Linked DNA regions of Homo sapiens: all the other regions are linked to region 5. The links are contacts of gene promoters, found by promoter capture Hi-C in blood cells and fetal thymus (Javierre and others, 2016). All regions are on one chromosome and are shown on one strand. Each heading gives the region's core, a stretch centred on a gene start or on the middle of the fragment in contact. The rest is flanking DNA. Distances are from core to core; before and after follow the strand shown.

Region 1 (3,989 bases), core at 1,165-3,664, 220 kb before region 5:
CTAAGTAAAATAAGGCAGAAACTGAAATATGTGGAATCTAAAAAAGTCACACTAATACTCATACAAAAGTCACATTCACACTCCACCCTACCACAAATATAGGGTAGAATGGTGGTTACCAGGGACTGGGGGGTTGGAGACATGTGGTTCTTGGTCCAAGAGTATAAAATTTCAGTTATAAGATGAATAAGTTCAGGAGACCTAATGTATAGAATGGTAAATACAGTTAACAATAATGTATTGTATACTTGAAATTTTATGAGAGTAAATCTCAAATGTTCTCACCACACACACACAAAATGGCAACTATGTAAGGTAAATGATATGTTAATAGCTTGATGTAGGAAAGCTGAACACATGTGTGAGTACTTATACATGTTTGTGTGAATATTTAGAAAAGCAGGAAAAGTCCCCACACCAAAAAGAGTTAATTCATCAGAACAGTATTAGGGTCAGAGTGGGAGGTACAGAACTTGTTGCAATAAATGCAATTACCTTTGTAAATAAACAATACTAAATTTTCAAGAAACAGAGAAAAAGAGAGACACCAAATATAAGACTTGCTCCCTATGTTTCATAACACATCTAAACAACTTGAGTATTTTCTCCAAAGGAATGTACAAGTAATCACATAATTACATGATTTATTTGGCTCAAATCAAGGGAAACTATCTTTGAGATATCCATAAAATGATAAGTACAGTGCAGTTTAAACTACAGTCCAAAAAGCTTCTCTGTTCTTCAAACTTTAAGACATTAGACCTCTTCCAGTCCTTTCTGAAATAAAAAGTATAGTGTTCTTAATAAGTTTTACAACTGGTAGAGAGTGACCTATGATAAAATACTGTATTGAAAACCATAATATAATCATAAAGTTAAAATACCAGAATTCCCTGAGAACAGTTTTTATAAAGATAAAAACCAATGTAGTAACAGGATTATATCTTTACCTGGAAATAACTACATTTATCAATACCTACTTTTCTATTATAAGAGTGAGTAAAATAAATATTGCTCCTACTTAAAGGATAAATTGAATTTCATACTATATTTTGCAATATAAACTGCAAGACCTGGCGTTGCACCTCGGAGAAGAAAAAATTTCAAATTTCAATTTCCAAATCAAACGAGCAAAAAATGACAATAAAAAATTCAATGCTTAAATGTTTCTATATTTCAACTTGCAGAGTTTCAATATAAAATGTAAAACATATTTAAAACACATGTTTCTATTACATTATGTGCTACTATTAGAGAGTGATAAAAATAAAATTTGATTGTATTTCCACTACTGGGTGCTTTTACGCCTGGATCACTTCTCTGATTATATAAGCTGCAAAACTTATTAGAATTTCTGTTGTTGAGCCCTGCTGATCCCATGAACAAATTGCACAATCGTTCCTACTTTGCTAGTGTAGTGAGGCAGAGGTTATGTCTGATCTTTCTATCCCCCATAAAACCTAGCACAGCGGCTTCCACCAAGTAGTCATTCACTAAATGAATGATGAATAATTTGTCCTAAGAAAAACACAGACTGACCCAAAGAGGAGATTAATTCTTTAAAATTACCTATTTTTGTATCAACATAAATACCACAGAAACATACAGCTGAGATCTCTTAGCTATATAAATATGAATTAAAACATATTAAAAATTAGTATTTCCTATGTTTCTTTAGCAAGTCTTTGTATAAATATATTGCTCTCCTTCATCCAAGAAAATAAAATAAGCCTGTAAGTTTCTATCCACAGGCACGATCTCAAAATAGCAATAAGATTTTTAAAAAGAAAGGAAAGAAAACATGGTAAATAGAGCAATAAAGGAAAACTTTCTCTGAGGGTATGCAAAAATGACTGAACAGATCTTCAAAATGAAAATTCATTAATCTATATTTTTTGCAAGGCAAGAAACAAAGCCAGCTAAGTTAACTGTAGTTTTTTAAAACTACAGTGTTAAAAATCAGCTTTTATCCAATCAAAAAATTAGAATAAAAGTAAAAAGTAAAATCTGTATTTCAGGATTAAAAAACAAGAAGTTGACTAGAGGAAATACTGATCAAATCAGTCATACAAACAGTATTTTTTAAGTGAGAAAAAGTAACTTTGGGGGATTATAGATGCTTTGAGAACCCCCCAAACAGTTCATTCTTAGAGTATGTCCCTGTATCAAAATAAAATATGTAAAAATGGGAACACTATCTACATTGTTAGCTCTAACTCCAAAAGGAAATCACAAGAAAAAGAATTGAGGAAATAACATAAATATGTATGAGATACAAACATTCTTTTTGTGTTGCACACAATTCAGATACATTTATTTAATTACAATAATTGAAACAAAATCCTACCTGAAACAACTTTTCCTTTAGGCCCATACCATTGGAATGATGGGTCTATCAGTTCAGCATTTCGCAGTTGTTGCGTTACACATAACACGTGTGGACTCTTTTGATGGAGCATGACATACGCTTTCACTGAAAATACAATATTTAAAATGTTCCAATAGTATTTTATCTTCTTTTCTTTCTCTATAATGTACACTTTTGTAGTTTGGGTTACATGCAATAATAAGAGTACTTTGAATTATTGCTCCTATTACTTGATAAAAACTAAATTTCATTGCATTCTATGCAATTAACATTAAAAATATATTATGTATTTGTATGTATATATGTGTATGCATGTATGTGTGTGTACATGTATCCCCAACCTTAGCATAATGTGTTAGTACTTTTCATTCAGAGCTCATATACACTAACCTGTTTTATTCTCAGAATATTATTTCAATAACAAAGTATTAAGATAATACTATATCTACACTTTATCTGTTTTGTAAAGACACCAAACATGATTAGAGCTTAAAAATTGTTTAGATTAGCAGAATAATGCATTATTCACAATGATGTAGCATGATGTACTGAATAAAAATGATAAAGTGATTAAAAAGTTAGCAAATTTATGCTTTTATTGATTTTAAATATTAAAGCATTTTGTTCCATTTGCTTTGAAATTTAAATCCTGATAAGTAAGCAAAAATAGTATCCTTTAGGAGATACAAAAGGAACCCGGTAAAGATTCCATTATTTTAAGTTTACTCATAAGTAAACTTTTAGGAAAGGTTGCAACAACCCTTTAGACTCTGCATGCCAACTCTTCACTGATACACTGTATACAAAGATTTCTGTGATCGAGTAAAATAAAGAGAATCAAAATTCTCTTTGACTTTTAAGAGACTTCCTCTAAAGTTTTACCATAAAGCATGATGTTTATTGAATGTACTTTTAGGTACATACCCTTCCACAGGTTAAGAAAGATCCCCTCTGTTCTTGGTTATTTGTTTTTATCATAAACATAAATCAGCACTGAATTTTAAGAAATGTTTGTTCTATATTGATTGAGGTGATTTTTTTCTTTTTGAGTACTTTAATGAAATGCTTGCATTAATAGATTGCCTAACTTCTTTAATAAATGCTTACCCCATAAATTTTCACTCCTCAGCATGATTTACTGGCCCTACTCTCCATGATCTTTTGCATATATCTCACTATACCTCTTTTCACACCCTCTGCCCTAACCACGCCACAGCAGCACACAGCATCATTCTTTTGTGATTTTATTGATATAAATTCCTCCTCATCTTTGGAGACTCAGCATAAGTATATCCTTTGTGCTTTGGCTTGACAGTACCTCATACCATGACTGTACCCTTCCTCTCGCCCCCACTAACCCCTGTACCTATTTCACAGCAAATATAAATGAATCCAGAAGAGTTTCCCAATGCAAGATCAACATACAAAAACAAATAATATTCCTCTACATCAACAATAATGCATTAAACCATTTTATAGGAAGGAAGATAATATTTAGAGTACAATAAACAAAAGTCACTCTATAATCAAGTAAGACCTCTGTGGGAAACATCTTCAGGCTCTAACAAAAGACATAAAATTAGACCAAAATGCCATAATCATGACTGCATACACATAACTT
Region 2 (4,074 bases), core at 330-2,829, 210 kb before region 5:
ATTACATACACACTGGTATGCTCTTCAGTGGACTTTCACAAATATCAAAGAAAAATCATAAAATATTATATTGCTGATTTCTACTTGCCCCATTCCAAACCTGTGTAGACCTTTTACTGAGTTTAGTACTTCCTTTCTTGATCCAGTTGTCTCTCTTTATCATCTACCAATTAACAATTCTAAACTTATTCTAATTACATTCAGATCCTTTATAGTACTCTGCCTCTCATTGCAGTAGATGATCCAGTCTTTGTTATCACAGAAGAGATAGACCTCATCTATTGTCACTTCCTTGATTGTCCTCCACTTTGGCCTCCTGATATCAATATTGATACCACTTTGTATGTCTTTCTATCTTTTTTTAAACCATTGTATTAAGTCACTTTGCATGACAAAATACTAAAGGCTGGGTGGCTGAAACAACAGATAATTGTTTCTCATAGTTCTAGAGGCTGGGAAGCCAAGAATCATGGAATTGGTATATTTGATTGCTGGTAAAGACCTTCTTTCTAGTTTATAGAAGGCATCTTTTTCCTTGCATCCTCAGAGAGAGAGAGAGAGAGCTCTAGTCTCCCTTCCTCTACTTAACACTAATGCCATCATGGAGGTCTTACCTTATTTGCCTCATCTAAAGCTAATTACCTCCCGAAGTCTTCACCTCCAAATAACATCACATTGGGAGTTAGGCTTCAACACACGAATCTGGGGGGATACAGACATTCACCACAACCATCTTTATAGTTAATTAACATTAAGTAGTATATTCATACTGTGCAAATATCACCACCATCCATCTCTGGGATTCACTTCATCTTGCAAAACTGAAACTCTTTACCCATTAAACAACCCCCTATTTCCCTCCCTGCCAGGGGTTATGAACTCCTGGCAACAACCGTTATATCTTCTGTTATCTATGATTTTGACTACTTTAGGTTCCTCACTTAAGCGAAATCACATATTATTTGTCTTTTGTGATTGGCTTATTTCACTTACCGTAATGTCCTTCAGGTTCACTCCTGTTGTAGTATATGTCCAAAACTTCTGTGTGTATTAGGTCTATTTGGTCTATGTGTTATTCAAGTCCTCTATGTCCTTATCGATCTCCTGTCTGGATGTCCTATTCATCATTAAAAGTGCGGTACTAAAATATCCTACTATTATTGTATTGTTGTCTATCTCTTCCTGCATTTATGATTCTCTTGACCTTGGTGAGCATTTTCGTGACGGTTTTCTGTGGGGTATGTTATTTAACTCTATTTTATTAGGATTGGTTTCTGAAAATGTATCTTATTCCTTTGTTTGGAGGATCTTTGCCTGATTCTTCATTTTCCTTGACTCTCTGTGTAGGTGTTTCCACATTAGGCAAAGCAGGCACTTCTTTCATTCTTCATGACCTGGTCTTGTAAAGAAGAAGACCTTCACCCTTCAGCCTGGCCAGAGATTTGGGAACCTCTGCCAACTGTTTTCCTTCCCAAGTGAATCTGAGAGATGGGATTTTTGTTCACTTGCTCTGTGCTGAGGAGAGGGTGAGCTATGGTGTCTACTAGCCCAAACTCCCATTTCCATTATCCCATAGGCAACTAGACTGTGCCAGATTCATCAGAGTTTCATGACTGATAAGACAGATGCTGTTTTTGGAGCAGCCCCAGAGAAGCTGGGGTCCTGGATCAACTCTTGGATCTATGGCGACTATCTCTAGATCTAGATCTGTGGCATCTACAAGCCCAGGCTACCTTCTCCATCTTCCCCCAGGGGGTTAAACTATGTTGGATTCATCAGAGTTCCAGAACTGGTGAGATAAATCATAGTTCTTTAGGCAACTACCGAGAAGTTGGGGTGCTGGACACGAATGAATCAACTTTTTCTAGGGGGCTGAGAGAGAAGATTATTTAAAATCTGCTTACTCTGTGCTGAGCATATGGGAGAGTCTGTGCTATCCACCAGTCCAGAATGCAATCTCTGTTCACTCTTGGATCATTAGATTGTACCAGACCCCTCAGGGCTCCCAGACTGGCAAGACAGAAGCCAGTCCTCTGGGGAGCTCCCTTGGAAAAGTTGGGGTGCTAAACATGGGAACCAACTGAGGGGAGAACAACCTGAATGAATCTGGGAGCTAGGAAATCTCTTCCTGATTGTCTGGTACTGCACCAGGGGCAGGGAATCTGCAAGAGGGTGACTAACTCAAATCTCCATATCAGCTTCAGTGCGTCTGTTTTGCATTCTGTCAAGGTGCAGGAGCCTTTCACTCAGTTTCTGTATTTCTCACAAAGGTAACTTGTTCATGAATTGTTGCTGAATCAGTTTATTAATTGGGGAGAGGAAGTTCAGAGTTTCCTACTCTGCCATCTTGCTAAGGTCATTCCCCATAAATTTTGTTGTTTAAATTTTCATTTTTCAGTCAGGCACGGTGGCTCACGCCTGTAATCCCAGCACTTTGGGAAGCCAAGGCAGGTGGATCATGAGGTCAGGAGATCGAGACCATTCAGGCTAATATAGTGAAACCCCGTCTCTACTAAAAATACAAAAAATTAGCCAGGCGTGGTGGTGAGCACCAGTAGTCCCAGCTACTCGGGAGGCTGAGGCAGGAGAATGGCGTGAACCTGGTAGGCAGAGCTTGCAGTGAGCCGAGATCGTGCCACTGCACTCCAGCCTTGGCGACAGAGTGAGATGCCGTCCAAAAATAAATAAATAAATAAATAAATAAATAAATATGAAAATAAAATAAAATCGTTTTTCTCAAGATAATTTCCCATTTCCTTTATGATTTCTTATCTGATCCTTTGTTTTGTGGCATCATGTTTAATTTCTATATATCTGTTTATTTTCCAGTGTCCCTTCTTTTGTTGATTTTTAGTTTCTTTTCATTTTTACTGGAAAAGACACTGTATGATTTTAACCTTTTTAAATTTATGAAGAAGTGATGAATGGTAGCTGGTCCAAAAGTGATCCTCAGCAATTCACCCTGTTCCTGTGTGTGCCTGCCACTCTTACTGATAAACTCTGTTTACTTCCCATGTTGACATTGGGCCTGGACATTTGACTGGCTTGGGCCAATTATATGTTAGTAAGCATCATGCAAATGGAGACTTGATAAGCACTTGCACGTTGGGATTAGTCCTCTTCAGAGTCTTATCTGGGATCTCAGTCACTATCCTGTGAAAGACCAACCTATGCCCACAGAAACAAATACAAGACACTTGCCAGTGTGCCCACCTAAGCCCCCAGCTAATGGTCAACACCAACTTGCCAGCCATGTAAGTGAGGCCTTTTTTGAACCTTTGCAGCTATTGAAACTGACACCATGTGAAAGAACCACCCCCAACTATCTTCTGAATCCTGGGAGAGAATAAATGGTTGACTTAAGCCATTAGGTTTTAGAATTGTTTGTTTTTCAAATAGTAGATACTGAAACGGAGTGGAGGAAAGGATAACCTCAAACTTAGTCTTAAATTTGATGACTCTGCGGTGTAATTCATCGTCCAGAGTCCTTTCTTCTAATCTGGCTTAATATTAGAATTCAAGTTTTATTGTTTTCCTAATTTCCTACTTTTTCAAAGCAGTTGTTTGAATGGCTCCAAATAAGATAGATACCACAAAATGCCATCCTGTTGCTTGTGGCACAATAGACTTCTAGAGAGTTTCCTTGGTCCAGCTTGTCACAGACAGAATCATCCTCATGGTTCTTAAAACTGAAATGACCATGGGATTCAGCATTCCTTTCCTCCCTTTGCTTTGGCCTCTCACCTCTGTGTCTGTATTAGTTTTCTCTTGCTGCTTTAATAAATTGACACAAACTTTCCAGCTTAAAGTGAAACCCGTTAATCACAGCTTTGTGGATCAGAAGTCTGGGGAACGTCATCTCGGTCTTCTGTTTAGAATCTATGATAATAATAATGCCAAAATTTGCCGGGCGCAGCCGTGGCTCACGCCTGTAATCCCAGCAGTTTGGGAGGCCGAGGCAGGCGGATTATCTGAGGTCGGGACTTCAAGACCAGCCTAGCCAACATGGTGAAACCCCGTCTCTACTAAAAGTACAAAAATGACCTGGTTGTGCTGGCGCGTGCCCGTAATCCC
Region 3 (4,037 bases), core at 630-3,129, 160 kb after region 5:
AGGCCTTGGCTGAGCTAGGATTCTAAGGCAGCCTGATGGAGCTGCAGCTCTGTGGCTGCCACAGCTGTTGCTCCTCCTCCGCGTTTGCCACCTAGAGCTGGGCATCCTGTCCGCTCTGTCACATTCAGAAACGGCCTTCCTCTCATTGAATATCACACTGACCTTATTTCACTTCCAAATAGTTATAGAACTCAGAAGCTATTCAGACAGCATGTGATCCTAGGAGAAGGAGCCCTCCGTGGCGTAGGCCCGTGCCTTGCTCATTCTAAGCCCGCGGATACAGCAGGGCCCCCATGTTGCAGGTGCTGGGGAGGACCTGCGGAAACGCGGCGCCTCGCGGGCAGGGGGTGGCTGGGACAAAAACACGTGTCATACGAGTGGTTCCTCGTCATGCCACCAGAGAGCGCCAAAGACCTCGGCCTCATGGGCGATCCCGAAAGCCGGTTCCCGCCCAAGGAGACAGGCTTTGAGCATCGCTGGACTCTGCTCCTAAGGCAGGATTGGGTCCCCTTTAAGAAAGAAGTGGAGTGTGTTTTAAACAGGAGCCAGCATGATCATAACTAGTTGTCCTTGAGCTTAAAGACGTCATCATTGTGGGGAGATAAATCCCTTATTTTTTGGCTTTCTTTCCCCAAAAAAGCTGAATTCGTCTCAAATGGGTAGAGGGGGATTTCCTACCCAGGAATTCATATACATACTCCTTTCCCAGTTCTCGCCCCCAAACAGGTCCTCATAGTGCTCGGCAGCTCCTGGAACTGTCCTCACCGAAGCTTTGGGAGTAGGCAGTTCATGGCACATCCTAGGCATTCTATGAAGCTTGCAGATGGATGTGTTTATATATGCTGTGCCACAGAGGAGGTGGCTGGGGACACCTGCCCCTGCACACCTGGTTGTGAAGTGGCAACAGGACTTAAAATGGAGGGCTGTTACCATCACTAAGGCTGAATATCATAAGTGTGCTTGTTCCCATGAAGCCTGGGGACCTCTGTCCATCAAGATGAGGCCACAGCTTAGGAAGGACACCAGGATCAGAGAGAGCCAGCAGAACAGCAGCAGGCCTTCTGCAGCTGGCTAAACGGGTGGCTCTAGGCAGATCCAGGCTCATATTCAGGACTCAGTTTCCTCATTTTTTTTTTTTTTTTTTTTTTTGGTGAGACGGAGTCTTGCTTTGTCACTCAGGCTTTAGTGCAGTGGCACAATCTCTGCTCATTGCAACCTCTGCCTCCCAGGTTCAAGTGATTCTTCTGCCTCAGCCTCCCGAGTAGCTGGGATTACAGGTGCCTGCCACCATGCCTGGCTAATTTTTTGTATTTTTTTTTTAGTAGAGACAAGGTTTCACTATGTTGGCCAGGCTGGTCTAGAACTCCTGACTTCATGATCTGCCCACCTCGGCCTCCCAAAGTGCCGGGATTACATGCGTGAGCCACCACACCCAGCCAATTGTTATTTTAAAAAAAAAAAAAAAAAAAAAAGCAGGGGAGTGGGGCTTGGAGCTGATAAGTGGTTCTCAAATTTTAGTGCATAGAGAAGGTGTCTGGTTTGCTTGTTAAAACAGAGGTTGCTGGGCCCCACTGCAGGCCGGCACTGCTGGTCTGGAAGCATGTCTGAGAACCACTGGACTAGGGAATATCTATCTTATTCTGGCAATTTTGGGGGAGAAAAACACAGTCCTTATGTTCTCATAATTGCCATTGCTCAATGAACTTCATTCTTGGCTAGATGTGGCTAAAGCACAACCTATGTGATGTTTCTACTGTGACCATCTTCCTGGACCTGATAACCTGCAATCTTAACGAAAGTGACTTAACAGATCTTATAAATAACCTCATCTCAACAACCCAAACTACAGTCTGGTTCTCTTGCCATGTATTTGCTTATTAAGACATTTGAAGGCCAGGTGCAGTGGCTCACACCTGTAATCCCAGCACTTTGAGAGGCTGAGGTGGGTGGATCACCTGAAGCCAGGAGTTCAAGATCAGCCTGACCAACATGGTGAAACCCAATCTCTACTTAAAATACAAAAATTAGCTGGGCATGATGGCGCATGCCTGTAATCCTAGCTACTCAGGAGGCTAAGGCAGGAGATTCGCTTGAACCCAGGAGGCAGAGGTTGCAGTGAGCTGAGATTGTGCCATTGCACTCCAGCCTGGGGGACAAGAGTGAAACTCTGTCTCAAAAAAAAAAAAAGAAAAAAAATTTGAATTTATTTCTAAAGTCCCGAAAGACCTCCGCAATTTTACCGTGATAAATAATAAAAACAAAGTCACCTTGCGGATATAAGCCTGCAGTCCTTTGACTCCATACATCCTAAATACAAACCACATTTTCAAAGAGCGAAATCTTCTGCCCAGTGGTATCTGCCAATGCTGAAATGAAACATGAAACAGACCATCAGTGAGGAAGATATTAAAAGCTGGCTTCCTTTTCGGCTCACCGGCTCGCCTATTTCTCTTGGAGGCAGCCGATTCCCTGGTGGCCAACCTGCTCCCATTGCCATGGCCTGTCTTGGATGGCAGGGCCCTCGGTGATGTGGGCAGAGGCTTTCTTTGCAAATCTCCAAGAGAAAGGAACACAGATGGGGACTGTTGACCTGGGAGCCAGTGATGTTCATTGTTTTCACTCAACAGGTGTTTGCGGCATGCACAGCAGGGCCAGACCTTGGGCTGTCCCCTAGGGTTCCGTGGTGAGCAAACAGGGAAGACACGGCCCTGCCCCCAGTGAGCTCACCATCCAGTGGGGATAAGGGGGTAATTTTCATTGATGTCCTTGCCTACGAGGAAGGAGGGAGCCAGAACCTGCTCTTGTCTGCCACTTCTGCCCCAGATGTTCTGGCACTGTTTTCTAGAGCAATACTGGTTCCCTCTTGGTCCTACTGATCACCATGGAGTGACCCCAAGACCCCTCATCAGAAGACACAATGTGTGTCTCCATGCTGGTGCTCCAGAAGCTTTCCCTGTCCTTCCTCTGGTTTTCCCAGACCCAGTCAGTTGACCGGCCCCCACACACTGAGGGATGGAGATGTGGTGAAGTGAGTAAGGAAGGACTGGGACGAGGAGACTGCTGGGAAGTGAGCATAGCAGCACTGTGTGGTCATCTTAACAGTCATATTCTATTTCAGCTATAAAGGAGACACTGAGGAGAGCTGAGCCAGCTCCCTACTGGGCCTGGGTGACACAGTGCAGCCAGGCGCGACACTCTAGCGCAGCTGGGCCATCTGCCGGGTGGGACTGCTTAGCCGGAGTCCTGAGTCCCGCACTGCTCCCCAGTAGGAGGGCTTGCAGGTGTTTTTTAAAGTGTGGGTGAAGGCCGGATGCGGTGGCTCACGCCTGTAACCCCAGCACTTTGGGAGGCCAAGGCAGGTGGATCACCTGAGGTCGGGAGTTTGAGACCAGCCTGACCAACATGATGAAACCCTCTCTCTACTAAAAATACAAAAATTAGCCTGGTATGGTGGCACATGCCTGTAATCCCATCTACTTGGGAAGCTGAGGCAGGACCCAGGAGGCGGAGGTTGCAGTGAGCCAAGATGGCGCTATTGCACTCAAGCCTGGGCAATAGAGTAAGACTCCATCTCAAAATAAATAAATAAATAAAATAAAGTGTGGGTGGAATGAACAGGTGGCAACTGCTTCTGAACACAAGAGAAGTAGCTCAAGGGCCCAGAGCCATGGTTCTGCAGGAGCTTCTCAAGTCAAAAGGGAAACAGGGACCCAACCTCTGACTCAGGCATTCAGTGTGGTTCCCCCCAGTTGCACACCAGGCCCTGCCCGGTGTGTTGACACATTATCTCCTTTGAGCTTCCTAGCAGCACTGTAAACAAGGGTTCGGATCCCCACTTTCTTGGAGCAAAAGCAGGTATGGAGAGTGACTTGCCCAATGTCACCAAGCCAGCATGCAGCAGAGCCTGAGCCGAACCTGCACACACAGTTGTCTGCTGGTCAGCACTGTTTGCAAGCTGTTGGGCTGCTCAAGAACTAAGCTAACTTGTCTTTTGGGAAATCTAAAAGAAGAACCCCTTATCCCACCACTAGCTGACT
Region 4 (4,274 bases), core at 1,068-3,567, 140 kb after region 5:
TAATACCATAACCAAGTGACATGTTTAGTAAAATGTGTATTTCTACTAAGGGAATGTAATTTTTGAAGACATTAAATATCAGGCTAGCATTCATGTTTCTGAAACAATAGCTAAAGACAGGGCAGTGCCACACTTGAGATAATTTAATCCAAGATTATTATATTCGATGAAGACAATCGCATGTGGCGAGAGTAAGCAATCTTAAAGTTTCAGTAAGCTTCCTATCCAACTGCTTCAGAAACACTCAAAATCACAAAGTGTTGAGACAAAGAAAGCTTCTCTGTGGTATAACGTAGAAACAACAGTTGACTCCCCAGCTCAAATTTTCTTTCCAGCTTTAAAATATCCTGACTATTCCTTTCAGGTTTAGATTCTTATTTAACAGAGTAGACCTTAATTCAGGAAAGACCATTTCTTGAGCTAACAAGAGAGACATGGGCTCTGCTTAATCCAAGATGAGCTAAACCAACTAGACTTTCTCTCCTTGTCACAATTTCTAAACTCCATAGAAAGAAGTGGCCCTGTGGCTGGTGATCAAGGGAGCTTAAAGTCAGGGCTGGCAGAAGCTGTAACTGAAAAAAACTGATAATAAATATTAAGACCAAATTTCAGAGCTAAATAAAACATTAACAGCTAGAGGGCAAATGCTGATAAATCTAAATAGCTAGACCCAAGAAGGTGGGAGTGATCTGCAATTAAACACCAAGAAAGAAAAACTAGAGAATTCCTTGACATCAATACCAAAGAAACCAAGTTTATAGTGCTGTTTATATAGAAATAGAAAGGGATAAAGACAGTAATGAATATTGTGGAATGTTTTAGGATGTTAAAAGATATAACTAAGAACTGAAGACAAGAAGTTTAACGTCCAAATTCTAATAAAAAAGGCCAGGCGTGGTGGCTCATGCCTGTAATCCCAACACTTCAGGAGGCTGAGGTGGGTGGATCGTTTGAGGCCAGGAGTTCGAGAGCAGCCTGGGCAACATGGTGAAACCCCATCTCGATTAAAAATACAAAAATTAGCTGGGTGTGGTGGTGCAAACCTGTGGTCTCAGCTACAAGGGAGACTGAGGCACAAGAATCACTGGAACCCAGGAGGCAGAGGTTGCAGTGAGCTGAGATCACACCACTGCACTCCAGCCTAGGCAACACAGCGAGACTGTTTCAAAATAACCAAAACAAAACAAAAAATGAATTCTAATGAAAGACAATCACATATTACAAAGGGAAAAACTAAAAATTGCAACAATCTTTTAACATAAAAACAGAAGGCAAACCAAGAATAAAAATTTAAACTATATACACAAACTGTCTAAATTCAACAACTAAAAGTGTTTCAATTTGTCATTTCAAATTGCACTGTTCACAAGAGAAAACATTAGAACTTAAATATAACCTCCACGAGACCAAGGATATTTGTGTTGTTCATTGCTCTACGTTCACTACCTTCAGTTTTTTGAATAAATGCAAAAAGAATGCCAACAAATACCAAAACTGCCTACTGCCCAATGCTGCCATAGCTCTGATTCAGTGCAGATGGAGTTTTACACAGGAACTACTTTTTCAAGAGGACAATTTAGAATGCAAGCCAAAAGCTTTAAAAAGTGCATATTCTTTAATCCAGGAATTACTCAAGAAATTTATACATTTTTTAAAAAGATCACCAAATGCATCCCACATAGTTCCTTTACAATAAACAAAAGATAAACAACCTAGCGTCCTGTCCTATATGCGCTCTACCAGATGACTCAATTATATTCCATCCATCCATGGAATCCTAGACAATCATAAAAGGACATTTATGTTAACATGGAAAGTGAAGATACGCTTTGAAGAATAGGCTACAAGAGAGAATACATTACACAATCCTACTGCTGTATAAAACAAAACATCTGGAAGAATCTATGCTTAAATATTAATAGTGTGTCCCGCAAAGTGGTAGGATAATAGTGACTTTTATTCTTTTTACTTATCTCTATTTTCTCATGTTTCTGTAATGAACATGTTTCATAAAACAAAATGGGTCTGTTATAAAAATCTGAAAACTTGTTTTTGAAAGAGAGCAGTATTACAGGCTGTAGTGTCAAATAAAATATTAATGTTAAATATCACACGCTCCCGTGAAAATAACCAACATTCTTAATTAACCTTTCAGTTCTGTGAATCTAATACTAGATCACACCTTGCTATTTCTGAAAATGTTAGTCCTGATAAAAATTAAAAACCATAAAAGAGGTAACAAATTGGCTGAAGAAAGTAAAAATTGGCACTTTAGCTTTGAGATCTTAAATCTACTTAAATAACACTAAGCAATACTTTGTCCAAATGTAAACCATTATACTAGCTGACATTAAGAATTATGTGGCCATCAGAAGGCACTTTCTTCAATAAAAGATGAATATTAATCAGACACAACTTTATATGTAATCTTCAACTAAAAAAAATTTGAGCTCACTTTTCATGTTATATAGCTTCAAGATAAAGACTTCTTAGAAACAAAAGTTCATTCTCACTTTGTTCAAATAGGCTTACGTATCAGGTAATCACTGGAAAGCAAAACTTACATTAACATACACTATGTCAATCAGATGTAAAATCTGTGCTATTATTTGAAGTACAGAACTTAGAATATATTCTTAAAAATACAATTAACACATCCCCAACTTTCTATGCTAAAAAATAAAGAAGACTGTACTACAGAGATGCCTTGATTCCAAGTATCCCACTTACTTTCCACAACCAAAAGTTTTGTTCCAGTTTTCATAAAGCTCTAAATCTTTTGGAGAAACACTAGGTCGCACAGTTCTAAAAGCATTTTCAAAATCAATGTAAGCTATGGGTCGAACTTGATCCGGTGTTATGGTAGCAATGTCAGCAGTTTGTAAACTGCGAATAGGACCAAGAGAAGCCTCCCTGCAAAGCTGTGTCATGTCTGCTCCTGAAAACGCATCAGACTGCTGTACAATCTGTTCAATTTCTTCTTCACTGAGGCAACACTGCTCTTTGGACATTAGATTAATTACTATCTGTTTCCTGGCTGAAGCTTCTGGGAGGGGAATATAAAGCCTTTTCACCAATCTTCTCCGGGCAGCCTCATCAATTTCTTGTGGCCGATTTGTTGCTCCCACCACTAGGATACGATCTTCAGAAGATGTTGTTGCTCCATCTAATTGAACTAAAAATTCTGTTTTTATCCTTCTAGAAGATTCATGCTCACCATCTCCCCGTTGAGATAACAAGGAATCAATTTCGTCAATAAATATCACAGCTGGTTGCTGACACCTTGCAACAGCAAACAATGCACGGACCATTTTCTCCCCCTCACCTACCCATTTAGAAGTTAAGGATGAAGCAGAGATGCTAAAGAATGTTGCCCCAGACTGACTAGCAATGCACTTGCCAATTAGAGTTTTACCAGTCCCAGGAGGACCAAAGAGCAAAATTCCTTTAGGGGGTCCCCTTAAACCAGTAAAGATGTCTGGCCTCAACATGGGCCACACAACTATTTCCTTTATGGTGGCTTTAGCAAATTCTACTCCTGCAATATCTTCCCAATTTACTGGAGGTCCATGATCCATAATCTCATTCATAATAAGTTCAATCATCTTTGGCTCCAAGTTCTTCAGACGCTCATCAACTGGATGTGCTGGTTCTGTAGGTCCTGCCCCATAAGGCTTACATTGCATTCCTCCATTCTGCTCTCCCCCATCTTGCTTGGGTATAGGAGGAACAAACTTTCCAAGTATCCCTCGGGATCTACTAGCTCCTAGAGACTTTTTTACACCACCATATGAAGACCCTGATGCACGCTGAGGTTGGTGGTACTTTTTTTGCTGATCTACCCATAATTGTTCTTTTGCAGTTTTAAATGTAGGCAGGCTGCTATCCTCCTTTGGGCCATTATCTTCTGTTTTACTACAAGCCTTATTCAGTATTGGATTGGAAAGTGCATCAATGGTGCCAGAACCATAAAAAGACTTCCTCTGTGGATTTTCACAGGCAGCAGGAAAACAAGACTGGTTAGATAAGAACACATTAAGTCCTATGTTTTCTTTTGCAGAGCTGTGATTTTCCTTTTTGACATTTCCAAACAATGGTGTGACATGGAATTTTGCAGTAGCTGACTCACCTACAGGTGCTGAGAATGTAGGACAAGTCCTAGCAGTGTTAGTCACCATAGGTGGCTGGGCATTCTGAAGGAGTTTCAAACGATTGCTCTCCGGGAAGTCTTGGGTCCGGTCTCGATCATGAGCTGAGTTAGGTAATGAGTCACT
Region 5 (4,280 bases), core at 1,115-3,614:
AGCGGCTAAAGGTACTTCTGCATCCAAGAACTAGAGGTGTCCCGTGTCCCCTTTACAACATTGTTGGCCTCCCTCTGGGCCTTGTACCTTATGTTTATTGCCTCATTTAATCCAGGTAAGGAGTCTTTAGGATTGGTGGCATGTATTCTTTTTATAGACAAGGAAGATGATGCTCAGGAGTTTGGATAACCTGCCCAAGGTCACGCAGTGGAGGAGAGGACTAGAAGGTAAATCAATGGACCTTTCACTACCTTCCCCTTCTCTGGGCTGTAGCAGTGAGTTAACTGGCTCAGACTTGCCCAGCGGAATGCCCTTCAGGACACACTGAGTACTGTAGTAAGAGCTGCATATGCGCTCAGGGAGAATGTGGATAGACGCTGTTTGTGATTCACGGGTAAAGGGCCTTCTCCCAGAGGCAGCAGAGGCAGATCCTGTCTCTGGTGTGCCCTGGCCCCCGACTTGGAGGCCTCCTGGGCCAGGCCAAGACCTTCCCCGGCAGCGATGGTCTCCAGCCACACTCAACTGCCCTGAAGGGACATTTCCTGCTTATTCCCTTGCCCGGCTGTGTCCTCCACCCGGAAGGCCTGTGCCTTCTTCGCCTGCATGTCCTACCCTGAGGAGGCTCCCTTGGTCTTTCATCGCTCTCCCTATGGGTCTTCACGCCTTCCCGAACCACCGCGCCCAAGCAGGAGCACGTTCTCGGCCCTCTTCACAGGGCGCTCCTCCTCACAGGGGTGCCCGGGATTTTTATTCTGTGCCTTCCTGGTGGCTCCTACAAGTCTGGAAGGGCAGGAGGCGCATCTCACTCCTCTGGGTCCCCTCCCCTAGCGCCTGGCGGGAGCCCAGGCTGCATTTGTGGAATTCATGACTTTTTCTCTCCTGCTCAAGCTGAACACATTGCTGGCTCCTGCTCGGGTGGAGCCCGGCTAATTAGAGTGAGGGGCTCCCCGTAGGGCGAAGGGGTGCGCTGTCAGATGTGGCATTCCCGTTTTACGGAGACACACGGTGTCTTACACGCCAGGGAGAGGTCTGAGACGCAAAGAGCCGTCGAGCGGGCTGCGGGATTGCTTCGCTGTCACCTCCGCCTGCAGCCACCCTTCCGCACGCACTTGTGTGTGCACCCAGGCCAACATGGAAGGCGCCATCCTAACTTCTGCCGTGAGCAGGTGGGAGGGAAGAGAGACGAGAGGTATTCCATTGGTTGTCTGGGAAAATGAATTGCACCTTCCCCTCCCTTGCGGAGGATCAACTTTTCCCACCCCCTCGGGTGGGCACTCGCATCCTGGGGCCGGAGCCTGAACCCGGGAGCCAAGGGGCCCCAGTTCCAGGGACGTGAAGCTGAGCGTACAGCGGGCGCTCCCAGACACTGGGGAAAGTGCTTTACGATGTCCCGAGTCCCTCCAGTCTCGCCAGCGGGGCGAGCGTGAGGGTGCCCCGACCGACCAGCGGCCCCGGGTGCAGGGTGGCGGGCCCGGCGGCGCGCGTCCCCCTCCCCCTCCTGGCGGCCCGCACGTGTCGCCCGCGCCGCGCCCCCACGGGTTACGCGCGGGTCCCGCAGCGCCGCGGCCGAGCCGGGCTGCCCGGCCCGCGGACACAGCGCCGGCCGCCGCATCCCGTGCGGGGCCGCGGCGCGATGCTGCGCTGGAATGAGGAAGCGCGGCGGCGAGGGGAGGGCCCGGGCGCGGTGCGCGCGGGGGTGGCGGCGGCGCGCCGAGCGGGCCCGGCGCGGGCGAGCGGGCTGCAGCCGGCGGCGGCGCCAGCAGGTACGGCCCGCACCCGCCGCCGCCCCGGCGGCCTTTGGGGGCTGAGCCGGAGCCCGGCGCGATTGCAAAGTTTTCGTGCGCGGCCCCTCTGGCCCGGAGTTGCGGCTGAGACGCGCGCCGCGCGAGCCGGGGGACTCGGCGACGGGGCGGGGACGGGACGACGCACCCTCTCCGTGTCCCGCTCTGCGCCCTTCTGCGCGCCCCGCTCCCTGTACCGGAGCAGCGATCCGGGAGGCGGCCGAGAGGTGCGCGCGGGGCCGAGCCGGCTGCGGGGCAGGTCGAGCAGGGACCGCCAGCGTGCGTCACCCCAAAGTTTGCGGGGTGGCAGGGCGCGCGCTCTGGCCACCCGCCGCTCTGGGCGGCAGCTGGTGGCAACGCAAGGGCGCGGCGGGGGCGGCCGGCGCGGAGGGGGCCAGGTACGGGGCCCGCGGGCGGCGCTGTGCGCGCGGGGCAGCCGGTCGGCCGGGAGCGCGAAAGCCTGGTCTGAGCCGGCTGGGGGCGGGGAGTGTGGCGGAGAAATGGGGAACAATGCGAGTGAGCAACTTCAGGAAGTCATTGTGAAAGAAAGCTGGGAAGAGCTCCGCGGCCAAGTTAGCAGGACACTCTAACAAGTGACTGCGCGGCCCGCGCCCGGGGCGGTGACTGCGGCAAGCCCCCTGGGTCCCCGCGCGGCGCATCCCAGCCTGGGCGGGACGCTCGGCCGCGGCGAGGCGGGCAAGCCTGGCAGGGCAGAGGGAGCCCCGGCTCCGAGGTTGCTCTTCGCACCCGAGGATCAGTCTTGGCCCCAAAGCGCGACGCACAAATCCACGTGAGTGTTTTCAAATTGAATTTCAATAGGAAAACTTGGGGTAACTGGTGAATTTAAAAAAAAAAAAACACAGTAAAGAAAAGCGGTAAGGTTGGTAGACCCTGGTGTCGCTCAGGTCCGCCTCTCTTTTCTGAGGACAGTGAGAGAGTTCACTTCTGTCAAGCGTCTGTTGCTCTGCACTGTGCCAGCAGGTGCAGGACCAGGCCGACATGGGACACTTCTGAGCAGCCCCGCTGTCACCAGGAGAGGAGTTCTAGCTCCCAACCATATTTAAATTTATGTAGACCTACATATACCCACGGAAGTCAGCCTTTATAAAGTCGTGTGTAAAGAGTTTTCCTTATATTTGAGCCGGGAGCTTTCTTTTTATACTATAAATATGATGAGATCGAGTCTGAACTTAATTTCTGCAAGAGAGGAATTATCCCGGCTTTGAAAAGTTAGTCCTTTTGCTGACCGCAGGTTTGACGCTCAAGTCACCAAACCTTCTCAGGAAAACCCTTAGTAATATTAAGGCATCAGGTTACTTGCGGTTATATTTGAAATGTATTTTAAATATTTGTCAAGCATCGCTGCTGATGCCTAAGGAACCTCGTGAGGGCTTGTTTTTCCTTCTAATTTGGAGGCATCTAATGACCGAAAACCGTAGCGATTCCATAGGGTCTGACCAGGCACAGCTTTCAAATGCAGCTTCCCTCTCTCTAGGGACTGCAGCCCACCCAGACTGAATTTCAATGCGGTGCGCTTTGCTTAGGTTACCCACTCACAATTTCCCACTGCGCCGCAGGCAGTATATTTCAGCTTTGAGATACCTTGTTTTAAAATTCCAGACAAAATGGTGTTGAGGAAATGTCTCCTTACTAGTCCCATCAACTTCTGTTAAAAGAGGAAAATTTATGGAATTTGAAAATACTGCGTATGATATTTAAACTTTCATAGACATTCAAATGCTTTTAAGGCCAGGTTCAATTTGGTTATGAGTCGAGGGGTGGGGGGGACCCACATAGAAATGTCCTGGGTCCTCTTGAGTTTATTTCTTTGTTTGAAGATGTTTGTTCAATGAGTTTTATTGTACTCATCTTTTATATGGAATTTTAAAAAGTAACAATTTCAGTATTATTTATATTAGAATGTGTCAGAATTATTTCCGTGACAAATCAGATCATTTGGGCTATGGCTTAAAATGTACACGAGGCAAATATTCATGACAAGAAGATTCACCTTCTTACGCTGGCATCTTGTAAAATGCAGAACAAGTTAAAGAAATAATGTGTACACATACAAATAATGATGTCACATTAAAAATACTACACTATTCTTGCTTGATGGAATGTATCTGATTTCCAATTTCACCATGAACATATTTCATACATTTTTTACATGAAAAAAAACGTGACTCTTAAGTCTCACAGTCAATCAGAGCTGGTGACCAGAACATTTTATTGAACTAAATGGTCATGTTTTCTTCCCCTTTTGTTTCACGGTGAGAGTTGAAGGAAGGAGTTTAGAAACTCTCCAGTACTTGTTTAATTCATCAGTGTTCTAATTAGAGTGGTACCTCTTGGAAAACTACACACCCCCCTAATGCAGAAACATCATAGCAATAATCACCCACCCTCAGGGTCTCCAGGAGACCACAAGGGCTGCAGATAAAAGTCTGGATGTGTTAGGTTTGACCCTTTCGAAGAGTTTTACACAGGCTCCTAAAG
Region 6 (4,013 bases), core at 429-2,928, 140 kb before region 5:
AGTTATAACTAGAATCCAGGTTTTCTAAATTTAGATATTATACCTCTCCTACCCTTCCATTTTTTCAGCAAATTGGATAACCTTCAATGAATTATAAAAACAAAACAAATAGAAACTGAAAAAAAAAACCCTCCCTGTGTTTCTAGACTTTTCTGAAGTGTCTCAGGGTTTTTATCTGACTTCTAAGAAATTAAGATCAAGATAGTTATACCTCAGAACTCCAAGTAAATGTGTAAATTCTTTTGGGGGTAGTTTGTTCTTGATTTTCCCACAGAAAGGGGGAAGTCAGCTATCTTTGTGATGGAATCATGTATTGCCTCAATGGACAACAACACATGCTTCGATGGTGAGTGTTTTACCAGGATGAAAGAGGAAGGGCAACAGCCATCCATCCTGAGGGCGGACGTGCCTGCGTGCAAAAGGAATGGTTCCCCCTGAACCCAATCTTGTAGTTTCATTATTTTTAGAAAGAGTAAATTGGAAAAAAAATAGACCCAAATAAAAATCTTCAACTCTGGAATGTTCTCAGCAAAACACAAATGGGGCAGTATTAGCCTCCTTCAGGAAGCAGGTTAACGTAGGTACCTGAGATTACATTTTGCAGTAAACATCCCTGGCAGGCCACTTTGCCAGGGGGTGGTGGTGCTCAAAATCTGAGGCACCTCTTCATCATTCTGGGCCTGGATAGGGCTTCAGTAATACTGGATCTTAGCATTTTCCAGGCTAAGATAATTTTTCCATTCTCTACAGTGCAGATACCTAGACACCTGTAAGAGCACTTGAACACCCCAATGCTGCTTCTAGAAGGATGTTGGCTTTGTCTGCGGCATCCCTGGGCCTCATTCAGAAAAAGAGAGATGGTGACTCTTCATTTGCTTGTTCAGACTTATCACTTGTGAAGATAAAAATGCAAATCCTGTTCACCACAGACCTAGAATCCCAAGGTCAGTCACAACAAGGAAGAACATAGAATTACCAGTGTTCCTGACCCTGACCTGTGGGGTGGGTGTAAGTTGTAGTATTTGGGCTTCTGTGGTCAACATTACAACTAAAAGTCACAAAAGCCATGGAAAATAGTCTCAGGGATACACATCTGCTCTTCAGATTCTGAATTCTGGTCTTGCATGATTTCTTTCACCAGGAGCCAGCAGAGCTGTGCTTCCTCGGACTAACAACTTGCCCCTCACTCCCTACCCTCCGGGCACCGTCTCCTCTATAAAGTCACCCTCTCAGCTTTTCTTTATCCCCAGAGATGACACAAATACAGAGAACTGTGGCATTTTTATAGCATTTAGGTGAAAGATGTTATAAATTATACAGTTCACCTGAGAGAAAAAATACATGCTAAACCAGGCAGTGCCTCACACCTGTAATCCCAGCATTTGGGGAGGCCAAAGCGGGAGGATTGCTTCAGCCCAGAGTTCAAGATCAGACTGGGCAACACAGTGAGACCTCTTCTCTACAAAAAAAAAAAAAATCAAAAAATGAAGGAGGATCACTTGAGCTCTGGAGGTTGAGGCTGCAATGAGCCATGATTGCACCATTGCACTCTTGCCTGGGTGACAGAGTGAGACCCTGCCTCAAAAAAAAAATAAATAAATAAATAGAAAGAAAGAAAGAAAATGAAAGAAGAAAATCCATGTGAATAATCTTATTCTAGCAAATAAGGATGTTAGAATGCAGCATATTAAAATATTACAAAAGTACAATACTATGAAAAAATATGGCACTCAACACAGAGCAGAATGGAAACTAGAATTGAACAGAGGAAAGTATTTTGAACTCCTGAGTGCAGGATAGGTTTTTTTCAATAGATGGTATTGGGACAACTATTTGAAACAAAAAAGAAATGTAGATCCACTAAATGAATTGTTCCTGGAATACAGACTTAAATAGATAAGTTACAGATTACTCGGAAATTCAAGAGAATTGGTTTATAAGGTGGAGGGTGTGAAAAAAATTTCCGAAAAGGACACTGAAGGAGATAAAAAGCTACTTTCAGTATAAAAAATACAACCAAAATTTTAAGATAAAACTGCCAGGAAAATATGTCAAAGGATTCATATTCTCATTGTAAAAACAGCCTATGATTTAAAAATGATTATACTAATAAAAACAAGTCAAAGGATGTTAATAAAAAATAAGAAATATGAATGGCCAATACAATTTTTATACCTCAGTAGTATTAGAGAAATGACAGTAGTATTTCACTTTTCACCCACAAACTGGTGCTTATGAGCAGAAATAGATGTCTGTATACCACCGGTAGTTTACATGGGTAATACCTTCCTAGGGGATATTTGGCAAAATGTTTTAAGAGCTTTCGCAAGTGGCTTACATTTCAACTTGGTCATTTCGTTTTTAGGATTTTGTCAAAGCAAATAATCACACAGTAAGCAAATATATATGCATAAAGAATTAAAGGTGCAGCATTTTATTTAACTGAGAGAAAATGAAAACAACTTACTGTCCTGTAGGGTAAACACAACTGATAGCAATAACTTAAGCATACTCTTAGAATGACCCTTATGGCAGATGCACCTGATGTGTGTTCTGAGCTAGGGCATCTGGGAGTGGCTAACACAGAGATTGGTTTCTTATCTATGATAAACATCTGAGCCCCTGTCCCATCCTGTGGAACATGGCCGAACAAGAGATTGAGGCCCTGAGTTTTGGGTTCATGAAGGTTGGAAGGTGGAGTTCACTAGGAGGAGGATGTTAAGTGAAAATGCTATATAAACTGCATGCTGTTTGCAAGCAGTTGCAGTTTTCCTGGCCAGCCTGCTGCCACTGGGTTATGTGGTTATGTTGTCCAGGCTACCACCACCATTTCTGTAATTAAGGCAGTCCTATTATCCAGCCTGCCTGCATTGGACTCTCTCCCCTGTATAGTATGCTCCTAATAAAATCCCATGCTTCATTTGCTGTCTCTGGATCTCTTCTTCGGCCTCTTGAACCTAGTGTCTTCCCTATTGAGATGCAAAGTTCGATACAACATGCCCATCGAAAGAAAATGTGATAGGCCGGGCGCGGTGGCTCACACCTGTAATCCCAGCACTTTGGGAGGCCAAGGTGGGCAGATCACCTGAGGTCAGGAGTTTGAGGCCAGCCTGGCCAACATGGTGAAACTCCATCTCTGCCAAAAATACAAAAGTTAGCCAGGAATGGTGGTGGGCACCTGTAATCCCAGCTACTCAGGAGGCTGAGGCAGGAGAATCACATGAATCCAGGAGGCGGAGGTTGCAGTGAGCCAAGATTGGGCCACTGTACTCCAGCCTGGGCAACGAGAGTGAAACTCCATTTCAAGAAAAAAAAAAGAGAGAGAAAATGTGATAAATTGTTGTACATTAATGTACTGAAATATATGCATTAAAAAGATAATAGAGCTTCGTATTGATTATCATGAAAAGATATATATGCAATATTGTTAAATGCAAAAGCAGGTATTACAACAGCGTGTATTTAATTATTTAAATTTTAAATATATGTATACATAGAAGACTGTAGAGAAAAGGTAAATAGTTACTAGTTCTGAGATTACAGGTGATTACCCTTTTATACTGTTACTACAGTAGGCATGTGTTCTTAAAAACTGGAAAACTTAAGAAGTTATAAAAAAGTCAATGCCCTTTCTCTTCAAAGGTCCTTACATAAGAAACTATCCAAAACATTCCTTTTAATAATTTAGAACCAGAAAAATGATTGTCCCTCCTGAAAAAAACCTGGTTTTAGAGTATGAGAATCATATAAGTCACCCACCTCAATCTCTTATAAAATCTGCTGGTTTATAACATATACAGGAGTGAAATTACATAAGGTAAAGTGCTTCCACTTCCCCCTGCCTGCCGGGGAGCTCAAAGCTGAAGTGAATAAACATATTAACTGATAGCTTAAACACTTGAGCCAGGGTTCCACATTTGAAACTGACATTTGAATAAGCCACTAATGGAGTCATCCTGACCCAGGTTCAAGTTTGACAACCACTGATGACTCTGAGGGCTGTGTGCCTGCTT
Region 7 (3,655 bases), core at 530-3,029, 190 kb before region 5:
TCAAACTTAATATTAAATAGTGAAATGTTGAAAGCATCCCCTGTGTAAGCAATCTCAAGCAAGTATGTCCTCTTTCACGTTCTCTTTTCTCCTCCTCCTTTCACCTAAGCACTGAAGTTCTTAGCCAGCCCAGTTAAGCAAACATAAAAATGGTATACAAATTGGAGGTGACTAAACAACCCTAATATTCTTGTCAATATGATTATGTATGTAAACATCCAAATAAATATGCAATTAAATTACTTTTCATTTTATTTTACCTTATTTTATTTTTAAGACAGAGTCCTGCTTTGTCACCCAGGCTGGAGTGTAGTGGCGTGATCACAGCTCACTGCAGCCTCAACCTCCCAAGCTCAAGCCATCATCCTGCCTCAGCCCCCCAGGTATCTGGGACTACAGGCATGCACCACCATGCCCAGCTAATTTTTGTATTTTTGTGGAGACAGGGTCTCCCCATGTTGCCCAAGCTGGTCTGGAACTCCTGAGCTTAGGCAGTCTGCCACTGACTCCAGCCTATACAGTTAAACTACTATGATAAAAAGAAACTGAATAAGGTTTTTAGAAATGAACATTATTGGAAATGCATTTATTGTATTCTAAATATCAGCAAGAAACAGAAAGTTTTAAAACATTTAACCATTGTATCAAAAACTATTCACTGTTGAGTAATAAATTTATGAAACTGTATTCAAGAATCCTATGGCAAAACTAGTAAATGTATTGAGAGAAAATCTAAAACCTAAATAGACAGGGCAATATGCTATTATCTGGAATGGAAACTTAAAATGTTTAAAAAGTTTAGAGCTTCCTAAGTTGATTTATAGTTTCAGTGCCATCTAAATCAATATTCTAACTATATTTTTGTGGGATTTTGAAAAGTTCTTTAAAAAAATGGATACATAAAAACAAAGAATCAGAAATAACTAAGACTATTCTTAAGTAGAGGGGAAAAATTCAATATCCTTTTATAGCAACTTGCTGGCCTCATAAGGGTCACAATGTTTTAATGGAAAAACTTCTGTTTTCAAGAAAAAAATGTTCACTCGCTAGGATGTAACCTGAGTGTTGAAGCAATTCTCCTCTTGCCTGAGAGAATAAAAACTACTCAAAGCTTTTCCTGACCTACAATTAAAAGAAACAATAAGAGGCGTTCTCAAGCTTGCAGGATAATACAGATTCTGGGTCCCACATTTTCCCTAATGGCCTCACCATTGGGTTAGCTTACTAGAAACTCAGTATCAGAGCCTTTACCTTGAGAAGACAGCCATGAGGAGGCTTTTCTGCAAATGAAAATAGCCTTACAACAGCCTTCAGTTTTATGACTTCCAAATTATGCTAAACCTTTCACGCTGTTCATTCATGAAAATAACATTCAGGCATTAGGAGTACTTACCCAAAAACATGAAGGAAAATAGAGGCCAATCACATATTATAGCCTGTGATTGGACTCAGTAGCTAAGCCATATTTTAATTGTTTAAAAGCGGTAGCAGCAGCAGCCAAATTGGTAGTTTCATCTGAGCCGCTTTTAAGACACGACCTTTATTTGCAAGTCTTGCACACTGCAAAAAAAAATATATTAAATTCCAGACAAACTCTGTATTTGTCAGCAAATAGATTAACACCTTCTGGAATTCTTCTCTTGTCTCCTAATTTCTATCTGAAATGTTGCAACTTACTTAACCCTGCTACTCTACTACCCCTGCCTCATGCAGGTGAAGACCACAATTGTGAGTGTAGTGTTAGAAATAGTGGCTCCTCATGTTCATATGTGAGATAATCCCTTTGATAATCCTGAGTTGATACTTTTTGTTTTTTGGTCTTATTATAAAACTCAGAAGGAAAATACCAGGCAGGGTATGATCTTATCACCTGAAATGAGTTAATACAGAAGAGAACTCTCACCTAATATAAGTCAGTTTCTCCTGAGCTTGTACATATAGCTAAAGACATGTCAGTAAATATTTATACAGATAGTTACATGCTTTTGGAGTAGTCCGTGATTTTGGCGTGTTATAGAAACAAAGAGGGGGACCCCCCATTAAAAACAGTCTCCAAGCAAATGCACTCCTTTCTGCTAGCCTCTTATCATCACGAACTGCCATTATTAAGATTGAAGATCATAGCTGTAAAACTAAACCTGAGTATCAAAGGAATTCCCTGGCAGATTTCTATGCTAAATCAACTAGTGCTGAAACTGTTAGGATACACAATTTGAATAAACTCTGTAAGATTGATCCAAGTCAACTCCCCTATGTTGACCTATTTAACAAACTGTGAAATGTGCCTGATTTGGAAAAACAAAATTGGTATCCGAATGCCTGTAAATTCAGTGTTAAACCTGAACTCAAAGAGCTCTCAGATGGGTGCCTAATACTTCCTTCTGGTACTTCCTGAGTCCTTGAAGCTTCCACTGTTAAAAGTTTTGCACTCCACAAAGCTCTTCACTCTACAACTCATCATGTAACAGACAGCATGATCCAAATTATGAACAAATACTGGTGGGGTAACTGTTATCAAATTGATAAAATGGTTCATAACCAATGTTTGGTTTGTCAAACTCATAATCCTGTGAAAACAATAAAAACTTCAGGTGGTGTATTTTCACTACCGGACTTTATTCAATTGTCATTTTCAGTGGGATATCTGTATATTTACATGTTATCTGGCTGGATAGAAGCTTTCCCATCTGAGAAAGCTGATCTTATGATGGTAGCTAAGAAGTTATTTAAAAAGTATTTCCTTTATGGAGCATCCCTGGAGAAATCTCCAGCAACAGAGGAACCTATTTCACTGGACAATTTAGAAACAGTCGAATAAGCTTATGCACCCAATGGCATCACCATTGTCCCTATTACCCTTAGTCTTCTGGAAAGGTCAAAAGACAAATGGCATTTTACAGCTGAAATTGGCAAAGTTAACTGAATCAATTTGATTGCGCTGGCTTTAATGGTAATCATTACTGAGGTAATATTACCTCGGCTTTAATGGTAATCAAATCCACCCCCAGTGGAAAACATCGATTGACTCCTTATGGAATAGTTCCTGGAAGGCATATGCCCTTAATAATAGAACCTCGTGTATCTTCCATTATCCTAAACTCTGATATGACTAAATACTGCAGGCTTTAATGCATTATGTCATAGTGTATTTTCACCAGGTGAAGGAGATCTTCCATGACCCACAGACTGAGAACAACCAGACCTTTCAAAACCCAGAACCTGGAGATTGGATCTTCTGAAAATGACATCAGAGACCTCATTGAACCCATGGTCCTCTCCCTATTGGAAGAGACCATACCAAGTTCTACTTGCCACCCACGCTGCAGTAAAATATCAAAGGCTTAAACCTTGGGTTCACATGTTAAAGCTCAAAAGGGCCCCTCCAAGCTCCTGGAAATGTATACCTGTTTGAGAATTGAAGGTAAACCTGACCAGGAAAACTTTTCCCCAGAAGCAGATGCCATCCTAGACATTAACAGCTATCCTAACGCCATAGATCAAGACTTTTCTGACATCATGAAAACTGAAAACCTTATCCTTTTTCCTCTTTTTCCTATTTCTGCCATCCTAATCGTTCCCTTTCTTTACAGGAAAAGCCATGGACTGTAATTTGTGGATGGCTTTAGCAAAGGCTTATGCTCCAGTAAGAAACCAA

Evidence for each region. The method cuts DNA at HindIII sites, captures the fragments that hold promoters and counts their contacts. A CHiCAGO score of 5 or more calls a contact.
Region 1: a contact is called between a fragment that was not itself captured here and the fragment with the promoter of IKZF1 in region 5, in 3 of 17 cell types (naive B cells, naive CD8 T cells and total CD4 T cells). The highest score is 6.2, in naive B cells.
Region 2: a fragment that was not itself captured here is called in contact with the fragment with the promoter of IKZF1 in region 5 in 9 of 17 cell types (naive CD4 T cells, activated CD4 T cells, total CD4 T cells and 6 more); the score reaches 11.5 in naive CD4 T cells.
Region 3: a fragment that was not itself captured here is called in contact with the fragment with the promoter of IKZF1 in region 5 in 1 of 17 cell types (total B cells); the score reaches 5.2 in total B cells.
Region 4: a contact is called between a fragment that was not itself captured here and the fragment with the promoter of IKZF1 in region 5, in 11 of 17 cell types (total B cells, naive B cells, fetal thymus and 8 more). The highest score is 12.4, in total B cells.
Region 6: a contact is called between a fragment that was not itself captured here and the fragment with the promoter of IKZF1 in region 5, in 11 of 17 cell types (non-activated CD4 T cells, activated CD4 T cells, total CD4 T cells and 8 more). The highest score is 19.3, in non-activated CD4 T cells.
Region 7: a contact is called between a fragment that was not itself captured here and the fragment with the promoter of IKZF1 in region 5, in 4 of 17 cell types (naive B cells, activated CD4 T cells, fetal thymus and 1 more). The highest score is 6.9, in naive B cells.

Annotation. Positions count from the first base shown.
Region 1 is chr7:50,079,427-50,083,415 of GRCh38, forward strand. It overlaps ZPBP (zona pellucida binding protein), which reads right to left. Exons shown (of 8, transcript NM_007009.3): 3 at 2,348-2,473. Among named protein-coding and RNA genes, the nearest start is that of ZPBP, 12 kb to the right of the region's middle. The HindIII fragment of the contact is 3,374 bases long and covers 728-3,989 here.
Region 2 is chr7:50,098,135-50,102,208 of GRCh38, forward strand. The region is part of intron 1 of SPMIP7 (sperm microtubule inner protein 7); the gene reads left to right. Among named protein-coding and RNA genes, the nearest start is that of SPMIP7, 4.3 kb to the left of the region's middle. The HindIII fragment of the contact is 5,623 bases long and covers 1-4,074 here.
Region 3 is chr7:50,467,806-50,471,842 of GRCh38, forward strand. DDC (dopa decarboxylase) reads right to left here. Exons shown (of 15, transcript NM_001082971.2): 12 at 2,268-2,366. Among named protein-coding and RNA genes, the nearest start is that of FIGNL1, 19 kb to the left of the region's middle. The HindIII fragment of the contact is 2,131 bases long and covers 815-2,945 here.
Region 4 is chr7:50,442,537-50,446,810 of GRCh38, forward strand. It overlaps FIGNL1 (fidgetin like 1), which reads right to left. Exons shown (of 4, transcript NM_001287492.4): 4 at 1,597-4,274. The coding sequence ends at 2,727. Among named protein-coding and RNA genes, the nearest start is that of FIGNL1, 5.7 kb to the right of the region's middle. RefSeq lists an enhancer at 3,815-4,274. The HindIII fragment of the contact is 1,448 bases long and covers 1,594-3,041 here.
Region 5 is chr7:50,302,352-50,306,631 of GRCh38, forward strand. It overlaps IKZF1 (IKAROS family zinc finger 1), which reads left to right and starts at 2,365. Exons shown (of 8, transcript NM_006060.6): 1 at 2,365-2,571. RefSeq lists an enhancer at 322-823 and a silencer at 1,678-2,477. The HindIII fragment of the contact is 6,071 bases long and covers 1-4,280 here.
Region 6 is chr7:50,160,057-50,164,069 of GRCh38, forward strand. No RefSeq gene overlaps it. Among named protein-coding and RNA genes, the nearest start is that of SPMIP7, 66 kb to the left of the region's middle. The HindIII fragment of the contact is 7,687 bases long and covers 1-4,013 here.
Region 7 is chr7:50,115,860-50,119,514 of GRCh38, forward strand. All of the region lies in intron 2 of SPMIP7 (sperm microtubule inner protein 7), which reads left to right. Among named protein-coding and RNA genes, the nearest start is that of SPMIP7, 22 kb to the left of the region's middle. The HindIII fragment of the contact is 1,247 bases long and covers 1,157-2,403 here.